3 separate regions of the Homo sapiens genome follow, and regions 2 and 3 are each linked to region 1. The links are contacts of gene promoters, found by promoter capture Hi-C in blood cells and fetal thymus (Javierre and others, 2016). All regions are on one chromosome and are shown on one strand. The core of a region is centred on a gene start or on the middle of the fragment in contact, and the rest is flanking DNA. Distances in the headings are between cores, read along the strand shown. Region 1 holds the start of DOCK5 (dedicator of cytokinesis 5). Region 2 overlaps DOCK5 (dedicator of cytokinesis 5). Region 3 overlaps DOCK5 (dedicator of cytokinesis 5).

The links. The method cuts DNA at HindIII sites, captures the fragments that hold promoters and counts their contacts. A CHiCAGO score of 5 or more calls a contact.
Region 2: a fragment that was not itself captured here is called in contact with the fragment with the promoter of DOCK5 in region 1 in 1 of 17 cell types (neutrophils); the score reaches 7.8 in neutrophils.
Region 3: a contact is called between a fragment that was not itself captured here and the fragment with the promoter of DOCK5 in region 1, in 1 of 17 cell types (neutrophils). The highest score is 6.3, in neutrophils.

Annotation. Positions count from the first base shown.
Region 1 is chr8:25,183,386-25,186,902 of GRCh38, reverse strand. DOCK5 (dedicator of cytokinesis 5) reads right to left here and starts at 2,214. Exons shown (of 52, transcript NM_024940.8): 1 at 1,952-2,214. The coding sequence starts at 1,994. LOC124901912 (a long non-coding RNA gene) reads left to right here and starts at 2,526. Exons shown (of 2, transcript XR_007060861.1): 1 at 2,526-3,517. RefSeq lists silencers at 1,917-1,966, 2,137-2,306, 2,317-2,396. The HindIII fragment of the contact is 10,671 bases long and covers 1-3,517 here.
Region 2 is chr8:25,410,166-25,413,682 of GRCh38, reverse strand. It overlaps DOCK5 (dedicator of cytokinesis 5), which reads right to left. Exons shown (of 52, transcript NM_024940.8): 51 at 3,481-3,517; 52 at 1-2,489. The coding sequence ends at 2,385. Among named protein-coding and RNA genes, the nearest start is that of GNRH1, 12 kb to the left of the region's middle. The HindIII fragment of the contact is 1,186 bases long and covers 1,043-2,228 here.
Region 3 is chr8:25,363,951-25,367,467 of GRCh38, reverse strand. DOCK5 (dedicator of cytokinesis 5) reads right to left here. Exons shown (of 52, transcript NM_024940.8): 30 at 2,764-2,842; 31 at 498-598. Among named protein-coding and RNA genes, the nearest start is that of MIR6876, 20 kb to the right of the region's middle. The HindIII fragment of the contact is 1,996 bases long and covers 783-2,778 here.

The sequences.
Region 1 (3,517 bases), core at 965-3,464:
ACTGATAAGTGACACAGTAAACTGACTCCAGAACATAAAAACAAAATATTAAAAACAATTATACTTGCTCCTAGGACTATGGCAATAAAAACCACATTTTTGAAACATGTTTGCATTAATTACCCTCAACTGAATAGTTTTGAAAAGAGCTTTTAATCCTGATAAAATTAGAGTTGATAACATTTCTGTAGTGATTGGGCATTGTAAATATGCTTTCATCTAGGGGCCAGGTGAGGTGGCTCATGACTGTAATCCCAACACTTTGGGAGGCCGAGGCAGGCGGATCACCTGAGGTCAGGAGTTTGAGACCAGCCTGGCCCAGATGGCGAAACCTGGTTTCTACTAAAAATACAAAAATTAGTCAGGTGTAGTGATGCAAGCCCGTAATCCCAGCTACTCGGGGAGGGGGGCTGAGACAGGAGAATTGCTGGAACCTAGAGGTGGAGCTTGCAGTGAGCCGAGATTGCGCCACTGCACTCCGGCCTGGGCGACAGAGTGAGACTCCCTCGTCAGTCCGTCTCAAAAACAAACAAACCAAAAAAAAAAAAAAAAAGAGCCCTGAGGCAGAAGCAACATCTCTACCCATTTCTGAGATGCAGCTAAGGGAGAGACTAAGATTCTAAAAGCAACTTAAGAGCAAAAAAGAAAATGTCTTTTGAATTGAGGGAAAACAAAAAATAATAAATATATAAAGGATCACAACCTAAGAATAATATAGTAAATATGAGACTGTTAAAAAACAAAACAAACAACAACAAAAAACCCTGACTCCTGGCTACAGAGTTGAAAAGCCCCTAGACACGTTGAGTAGCTCTTAATTGAGACTGCACTTCATTAACCAGTGAGGTGAGGAAAAACAGGACCTCAGTAAGGGAGTAAAGTCAAAGACTAAATTACAAACAGGCCAAATGAATGGATCTGAGAGGAAGTGATAAAATTCGCAACACACTCAGCCGTGTTTATTGTAGGGAATCACCCCAGGTCTAACTGCCATTGTAATCACCCCGTTCAGGGCAGAAGTCTTCCCACAGGCCCTCAATAACTTCAATCCTTGATAAAAAGCCAAAGGAGCCTGACTTTCCACCTGGGTCAAAATCCCCGCACATCTATTGTTTCGGAGCCAAAGCACCACCACCAGCAACCCCTGCGCACAACCCGGGGCTCTCCAGCACCGCTGTTCTGAATGCCAAGTGCCCAGCACGGGGTCTGGCACAGTTTCCTTAATAAAATGTCCTCTTCTCGTCTCCAGGATGAAACTCAGGATCCGGAAGGCAGCCTTACACCCTCTCCAGACAGGCTCCGTTAGGGGATGAGTGCGCACAAACAGCCCCAGGGGCCAGCCACCCCCTTCCCGTGCCACAACTTCCTGTCCCTTCCATCACTTCCACGCCACGACTCTAGTTTCCATCCAGCTCACAACTGTCATCAAGATCCCAGTCTCTGGAGGAAAGGGGGCAGGGCGGCTTTCCACCCTCAACTCCTCACTTAAGGGGCGTCTGAGAAGAACCTACGAAAGCGGGGGGCAGAAAGCACTGGGACAATGAGCACCAGTCCATGTGCCGACCCGGGCTGGTCACCTACTCCCAGGTGAAACCCACGCTGGGCGCACCGGGGCGAGCCACAGAGCTGCGGCCCCAAAAGAGCAGCAGGCGCGCCCCCCTCGCGTTGACATTTCCCTGGTGTGAAGTGCCGGAGATTGGGATGCAAGAGCGGGATTACGGTCCCGAAGCTCAGCTGCACTTGGAAGCACTCGGAGTCCCCAAACCCTGGGCGACTTCCCCATCGGCGCTCCCTGGAGAGGACTCCTACCGTCCCCGGCTCCCAGAGCTGCGCAGCCGGGCCGAGCCCCCGGCCAGGGTCCTCCGCCGGGCTCTGCGCAAACCTGGCAGGGCCGCTGTCCGCGAACTTGGCCGCGTGGGTCGGGCCGGGACAAGGTGGGGCGCGCACTCACCAACCCCGTACTTCTGCCTCTTGGTCGGGATCCAGCGGGCCATGGCGGCGACCTCGCCCCGCGGCGGCGGCGACTAAGGCTGCTACAGCTCCTCGGGCTCCGGCCGCCGCCGCCCCGCGCTCCTGCGTGCCCCAGACGCTTCCGCCATGTTCCGCCAAACTTCGCTGGACTCCGCGGGCCGCCTCCTCGCCGCGCCGCCCGCGCCCGTGCCCGTGCCCGCGCCGCCCGCGGTCACCTGCTGGGCCGGGCTGCAGCGCAGCAGTGCGCGCCCCTCCTGGCGCCGCCCCAGTCCCTCCCGCCGGCCGCACCCTCCGCCCGCCGGGGCCGCCTCCGAGCCGCGGGCGCCCGGCCTCTCCCGCCCGCGCCGCTCTCTGCGCTCTGCCGGGCGGGGGCCGACTGCGGCTCCGCCTCGCGCGCTTCCCTGGAGCGGCTTCCTGGGCCGGCGGGACTTTGACGCTGGCGGCACTTTGCCTTTCTCCCGCCCTCCCCACCCGGCTGATACCCCGGAGGCTGGGTCCCGGGGGTCCGGCTCCCGACAGAGGGCTGCGCTGGAGGAGCCGGGCACGCCCAGGCCGGGCGGCCGGTGGGCGAGGGATGCGGGCTGCGCTCCCACGGCGCGCGCCGGACACTTGGGGAGCGGAAACGGATCAGCGAGAGCGGCTTCTTGCTCGGGGCACCTCCGGTGCCTGGCACTAAGCGGGCGCGCAATAAATATTTGTTGAATGAATGAGCAGTTGACTTCTGCCTTCACCCCCTGGAGCTTGAACCCGCGCCGCGAGCGGGAGAAGCCGGACTCAGGGCAGACTGAATCTCCCGGGGCCACCGCTTAGAGCCTGGAAAGCAGAACTTTTATCACCGGAGAGCTGGTGCAAGGGAGGTGGGCTCCTCAGAAGTATCAGACCGTTTGCTAGGGGATCCTCTGCAGGGAAATTGTTTAGAAAGCCCTAATTTGGAAGTCCTGTATCCCCAAACTCCGGGGACCCCCCAACCTTAAGCTGAAGAAACTTAGACCCTCATGCCCAGACCTCCCTTTCCCAACCAGCCAGCAGCCCAGAGAGCATTCCCGTGGAGAAAGGGCCAAGGCGCATCCCCGTCTTTTCTCCGTCAACGACTGCCTTTTCTTGACGAAGATCCCAAAGGGGCTGCGCATTTGAACCGCCTTGGGCTCCAGGTGGCGCCCTCTCTGGAGCTCCCCTCTTGGAATTCATTTCTTCCTGGAGAGACTTGGAGAATGAAGATCCAGGGGTTTCTCCCTACCTTGTACCGAGAAGTAACATTGCAAGTAGAGTAAATGACCAGCTTAATTACGTTCACCTTCGAAGAAGATTCCTCTAGAGAGAAATTATATCCTCCTTGCAGCCTGTGAAGGTTTTCATGCGTTTTAGGAATATAAAAGAAAGGAAGACAAACATGTAGTAAAGATAGTAAAGACAGGTAGTTGGCCAGGCGTGGTGGCTCATGCCTGTAATCTCAGCACTTTGGGAGGCCGAGGCGGGTGGATCACCTGAGGTCACGAGTTCCAGACCAGCCTGGCCAACATGGTGAAACCCCTTCTCTACTAAAATA
Region 2 (3,517 bases), core at 386-2,885, 230 kb before region 1:
CCCAGCCTCTGCTCAAAGACCAGGCTGTGGGACTCATTTCTACTGCTCTGGAAGGATAGCCTTGAGGTTTGGTTTTTTTGGTGACCCAGTTTTATATCTTTCTATTTTAATGGCAGCCCGGCAAGTAGAGTGTGGCACACAAATCCCCTCTAGCCGGTCTGCTGGGTGACTTCTCAGAAGTCGTGCCAGGCTCTAGGTAAGCCCCTACATATCCTGTCTGTTGCCTCCTCCTTTCTCTACAGCTTGAGTTCTCTCCATTTAAAATCCTCTTGAGTTCTTATTAAGTTTGTCTCTAGTCATAAATAATCATGTAAAAGACCTCAAAGGAAACCACCATTTGGAGAAGGGCTGTATGTGCAGAACTAACTTGCACTCACATTCCAAACTACCTTGGAAGAAAAAAAAAGTATGAGTAATGCTCTTAGAGAGTTCCAGTTCCTACTCAGGCCTAGCAGAGGAAAGCAGGGACCATCAGGTGAGTACCTCTTCTTTCCCATATTTCATCTCATTGAAACCTCACAACAACCGATGCAGGAGGCATTATCCCCATTCTGGAAGGTGAGAAAATGAAAACTCAGATAATTTCAAATAATTTTTGTGAGTTTGCAAAGTTAACAGATGTCATAACTGGGATTTGAAACCAAATGGGTTTAATTCCACCAAATGGGTTTAATTCCAAAGCCCATGATTCTTCCATGCTAGCACAATGCAGGTTTTCCTGGGTGGGGGTAAAGGATCACCTTTTCCACACCCCTTCCAGAATCTGCATACTCATTTCTTAAGTAACGCCCTGGACACATCTGAGAGCTTTTGCTTCCCTGACCCTCATGATGAACTGGTGTAGTTCTCTCCTGAAAGGGTGGCGGTGAAACAGGAAACACAGAGAATCAGGCAGGCAAATACCAGCTCTGGCAGCAGAAATGGAAATCTCTTTCTCTGTTCTCTTCACCTCCTTAGTGGAAAGGACTCTGGGCAAGGTTGTGGGAGAGACCACCAGCAAGTTTCCCCCAGTGCTGACCTCTGCCTTCACAGTCAAAAAGCTTTCTGCTTTGCCACAAATATCTAAGTAGCATAGAAATATCTGGGACATTTCAAATATTGTTCCAACCAGGGGTAAATATTAAAGAGTCTGTCAGAGTTGTCTTCTAGAGATTACCTAGGTATAGCCTAATTTAGCAAGCTGGGTTATTAGTAATAATCTGTAGCACAATTTTCTGTGTGTAGCCTCAATTTCCTTATTTACTAAATAAGGGGACTGGTTGGTTGATCTTTGAGGCTTCAAGTCCAAACGTCTAAAACTTCATGTGGCTATTTATGTATGTAATATTTGGTCACCTAAATCGCTCCATTTTTTCTTCTGAAAGGAGTACTACTAGTACCATTAGCAAGCAATCAAATTAATTCCACAATCAAGAGGAATAAATAATCAAAGAGAAATATTGCACTGTATTCTCCAGGATAAAATCAGGTAGCAGATGCGGCTGCTGAGTCACCCAAATGGGTTTTAGAAAAGAAACTGCTGAATCCAGACTGGTAAGTCCCTTGTAGCCAGTGATTTGCGCTCAGAGGAGGTAATAGGACAAAAAAAAAAAAAAAAAAAAAAAGCCGTATGTGCAAAAGGAAGAGCTTCAAAGAAGTCCGTAGGGAAGGAGTGACTGCGACGCAGTGAAGGCCATTAGTCAGGAGTGTGGTGGGAGAGGGAGAGGGCAGCTTTCCTGTGCCACAAGAAGATGGGAGTTGGGTGGACTCAAGAACTCAGGGCTGATGTTTGAGTCCATGCTCTTTCAATGATAGACACACATACCTGAAAGCAGCCAATCTCCATTAAAAATGTGTGTTCTTTTCCTCAAAGGAGATACAATAGACATCAGAAAGATATGATTATTTCAGCTACCAAAGTGTACTTGATATCCATCTCTTCCAAGATGCAATATGGGATGGGATCAGTGTGTCCACGTGAGAAAAGTACCTAAGTCTCAAGCACAGCTTTTCATAAGCAAAGCAAAAAATCCTTCCAAGGAGTAGATTACAGGGGTTGCTCCACCATCAATATGGAAGAACTTGTCCAGGCTTGTGCAGACCACCATGTCTCTGCCGTACAGGCTGACATTTAACAATGGTGAAGGCAATCTCTTCTTGGAAAAAATCAGAGGCTGTGACTGATTCTGGAATTCCATGTGGACTGGAAGGGAGGTGGCATGGCCTCAAAATTCTATCAAAGAGAAGCTTTTGGAAGAACATGACTGGTTTTGGGCTGGTAAACATCATCCCAGATCAGGAAATGCAGTCAGCAGGGAGCCCCATGGAATGAGGACACCGGCTGGAGGCCAGTTCTCAGGCAGCAGCTGTCTAAGGCACTCGGTGTTGCAGGGAGGGCAAGATCCTTACTGGGATCCAGGCTCGGAAGTAGGGATGCCAGACTTCCGAGCCTTTGGAGGTGGAGGGGGTGGTGCTTTGGCTTCTCTTCGGACAGGCAGTGGGGGAGCGAGCTGCAGAAGCAGAAACACAAAATTAGAAGCAGGTCTTAGCTTTCTTCCCAATTCTGCCTTCTCCTCCTATTTCTCATATTCTGCTTTAGCTTCTAATTGATCTGAGTTTATCTACACAGGCTTTGCAAAGTGAAATGGAAAACTACACTGACTTATCCTCCTTGTTTCCCATGAGCTAATCAGACACACGCGTGCGTGCGTGCGTGCGTGCGCGCGCGCGCACACACACACACACACACACACACACACACACATTTTCTCTCTCTCTCTCGCTGCCATATCCCCAACACTTGGGTTCCTGGCGTATAGACAGGAGGCACTTAAAAGTCATTTGTTAAATGACTGAAGGAAACCCATCTGAGGTCACTCCAGAATGACTGTCCTTTATTCAGAAGAAGTAAACTCTTCAAATGTGAAATAGAGGGCTGGGGGCAGGCAGTGGCTCACATCTGTAATCTCAGCACTTTGGAAGGCTGAGGTGGGTGGGGGGGATCACTTGAGGCCAGGAGTTTGAGATCAGCCTGGGCAATATGGAGAGACCCCATTTCAACAAAAGATTAAAAAATTAGCTGGGCATGGTGGCACATGCCTGTAGTCCCAGCTAATTGAGAGGCCAAGGTAGGAGAATCACTTGAGCCCAGGAGTTTGAGGCTGCAGTGAGCTATGATCGCACTATTGCACTCCAGCCTGGGTGACAGAGCCAGACCCTGCCCCCGCCCCCCTAAAAAGGTGAACTAGAACTCACGGCTTATTTCACAGGTACCCAGGACGAGGTACAGAGAACACCTGCCTCTACCTTCATCATCTGCTTGCATGTCTGTCCTTCCCATTGAAAACTTCTCTATCTCCTGTGGTTTCAGGAATGAGCCAAGAATCGACTGCAGTGACAGGTCTATGAGCAAACCTGCCCACTAAAGAGCCTGGAAAACCTGATGCTGCCTTCCCAGGAGTGGCGCTCCCTGGCCACAGTTGCCAGCTGTGATTTCCCTACCTCAGTGGAGTTCCTCTGGCTGCCTTCATAGGGCTTG
Region 3 (3,517 bases), core at 531-3,030, 180 kb before region 1:
ATGCTTCCCTAAATCTCTTATCACTTCTGCACATAATTCCATTTTGAATTCCAAACCAGGAATCTGGAGGGCATTTTAATGCAATGTCTGAGACCTGGCTTTCTCTGCTGAAATGGCAGGGAGGTGGAGCAACTGTGCTGAAGGAGTGTGCTTTGTGAAGCGCTATGAATGAGGAGGTACTATGCCTGCAATTTGGGGAAGCTGCCAGCAGAGGCGCAGCTGTTCTTGGGGATGGGCAAGCTGACAGCCAAGGTCCGTCTCCAGGTACAGATTTGATAAAAAGCATGGGATGACTGATGGGAAGATGGTTGGGCCTTAAGAAAAGAGAGCTGAACCTGGGTGAATGTGAGGCCTATTAAGTAATTAGTTGAAGACTTACCTCACTAACAACATGGGTAGCCACTAAATAGTAATTTCTGTGATACCTAAAATATTGCTCTCAATGTAAACAAATGGAAGAAGCCCCTTCCCGATCTTAACTTTAAAAGGACACTTACTTTTTAACAATTTTGTTGCGCTTGGCTTGTGAGAAGGTTTCAAGCTGAAGGGACTCATGGGTGAGAAATGCAACTGCCAAATGGAAGTAATTGTTCCAGAGCTGTTCAAAATTAATTGTGTGGGTAAAGGGAAATGAAAAATAACATTAATAAGGGCCATAATAAAACAATGTCACATGGTAAAAAGTCATTAACAAGAGATTAATGAAAGAACAAAATACAATCTACATTCTTCTTAGGTTTTGATTATTCAATCCTAAAAGTTTTGAGACTTAATGTTAAGCTTTTTAAAAAAATTTAAGCTATTATATTTTTCTTTACTCCTGGGATAAAGGAAAACTGCTGCCAAGAAGTGTATCTATTTATAGTATGTACTTTGGCACTATGTTTCAAAAGTCCTAAAAGTTTGCCAAACTTTTGAATTAGTAAACACTTTTAGGACTTTATCCTGATGAAATAACCATGAATTTTGTTGTTGTTGTTTGATCCAGAGTCTCACTCTGTTGCCCAGGCTGGAGTACAGTGGTACAATCTCGGCTCACTGCAACCTCCGCCTCCCAGGTTCAAGCGTCCTGCCTTATCCTGACGAGTATCTGGGATTACAGGCACCCACTACCAGGCCTAGCTAGTTTTTGCATTTTTAGTAGAGATGGAGTTTCGCCATGTTGGCCAGGCTGGTCTTAAACTCCTGACCTCAGGTGATCTGCCCGCCTTGGCCTCCCAAAGTGCTGAGACTATAGGCGTGAGCCACCGTGCCCAGCCAAGCACGAATATTTTTAAATATTTAAAGGAAGGAAGTCCATCACAGTGTTATTTAATATAATAGAAAATGGAAACAATCTAAATGTTCGTAAGAAGAATTTGGTTAAATACATCATGGACCAGTCATAGAACAGATGATATTCAGCCATTAAAAACAGGAAAATATTCAACATTATTGAAAAGATCACAGATCATTGAAAAAGGAAAACAGATTAACAGAGTACCAAAGAACTGCACAGCTCAATTCCATTTTGGCAAATATACATACACATACATACAATATATATTCATCTATATGTGCATGCATCTCTGTGTGTGTATGTGTGTATACTTTCCTCTACTTATGATTTTCAACTTTTAAAGTTCTGAGGCAGGAAAACAGGGCCTGGAGGCAGGGCACTGAAGGCCAATTCACACTGACTTCCTAGAACTGAATCAAAAGGAAAACCCCACCTCTCCACACCCAAGTAACAAAAGGATCAGAGGCTACCCCTTTGCACTCTGTGGCAGATGAAAAATTGAAAGTACCTCTGATTAGTCCCCTCCCACAATTGGTGGGAGGGTCAGACTGGTCACATGCTACTCCTTCATTTACATAGGGTGTAACCAAGTAACCAATGGGAAAACTTCTACAGGGTATTTAAACGCCAGAAAATTCTGTAACCAGTGCTCTTGAGCTACTTGCTTGAGCCTGCTCCCACTCTGTGGAGTATACTTTCATTTCAATAAATCTGGCTTTTATTGCTTCATTCTTTCATTGCTTTGTTTGTGCATTTTGTTCAAAACGTCAAGAACTTGGACAATCTGTAGTCAAGGACCTCCACTGATAACAGTTCCACAGATACACGCAAAGACAAAGAACACAGAAAGCACATCACCCACAAAATGCAGAGTACTCTGGAAGGTAAGCTCCATGACAGCAAGGAACTTATCTGCCTTCACCAGGGAAATGCCCCTACCAGGGCGCAAAACAGGGCCCTGTACATGTAAGTACTCTAACATTTGTTAAATGGATGAATGGATAAGTAAATGAATGAATGAATGAAAATAGAGCTAGCGGTCATCCGTTTTGCAATTCCTTTGGACTTTCAACAAACTGTGCATAAGAACTGTTCTTTAGAACCAAACTCATTTGTCGGTAGGAGAGTTACCTGTGTGCTTATTTGTAGCCATGTGTGTCTATGTGCATTTGTGTAAATATACAAAGGGTCAACTCCAAATGTTTATAGCGACAAGGAGGACTATTTATATTTTTGATCTTCTACTATTACTCTTTAAGATTTTTTTTTTACATATGTTACCTTTATAGAAAGAAGAAACCACCCCTATTTTGTTGTGTTTGGAGGACAGTGTGACAGGCATATGTGCTTTAGGAAATGAAAAAACACAGGAAAACCTTTTTCATGTGAAAACAGTGAAATCTGAGGAGACATTTTCCAAATTCATATAGTTCTCTTGCCATGGCCAAGAATTCTAGAAGCAGGTAGGTGAGTCACATGCCTACCTGAAGTTCAAAGCTTGCCTGATCCATGAAGAATCTTGTGAGAACTTCAGCAAACTGATTTATAGCACGGAGAAAAACCCTGCGGAAGGAAAACACCAGATAAAGAAGCCAACTGTATGTCCTTTGAAACCTTTTCCCACCTATATTAAGAACTAAACCAAACCAAACCTGAACTTGGCATCATAAGACCTCATAATCTAACAGTGTCCTTGCAGACAACAGCATAACACCATCCGCAGATGGGGCACAGGAGGTCAGTTTACAGAACAAACAAGAAGAGCCACTCAGGGCCACATCCCAATTTAGGTAATTGAAGGTAGATCTGAGACTGCAAACCAGGACTCTTAAGCCTCAGAGGAGGGTAATATATATAGACTCTATTATGATCCTTCTGTTTAAGCTTAGGGTTTCTGGTGTAATTTTTTAAATCTAATCTGTACATAGCAGAGAAGGCTTCTTCTAATCAGGTGTTAGAGTAGAATTACTCAGAATTGGGTATCATGTAGAGTTAATAATAATGCTTACAATAATGGTTTATTTATCTCATTAAACTCTAACACTCTTTTAATATAATATATATTCAGTTCATTTCACTTCTGTTCAACAAGTATTTGTTGTGGGCTAGCAATTGCAAGGCACAGGCTCACGTCTGTGTTGAAAGACACAGTTTCTGATCTTAAGAAATTTACAGCTTGGTTGGGGAAATTAACAACATGTACATCTATTACCCAACATAGAATCTGAAAACAATTCT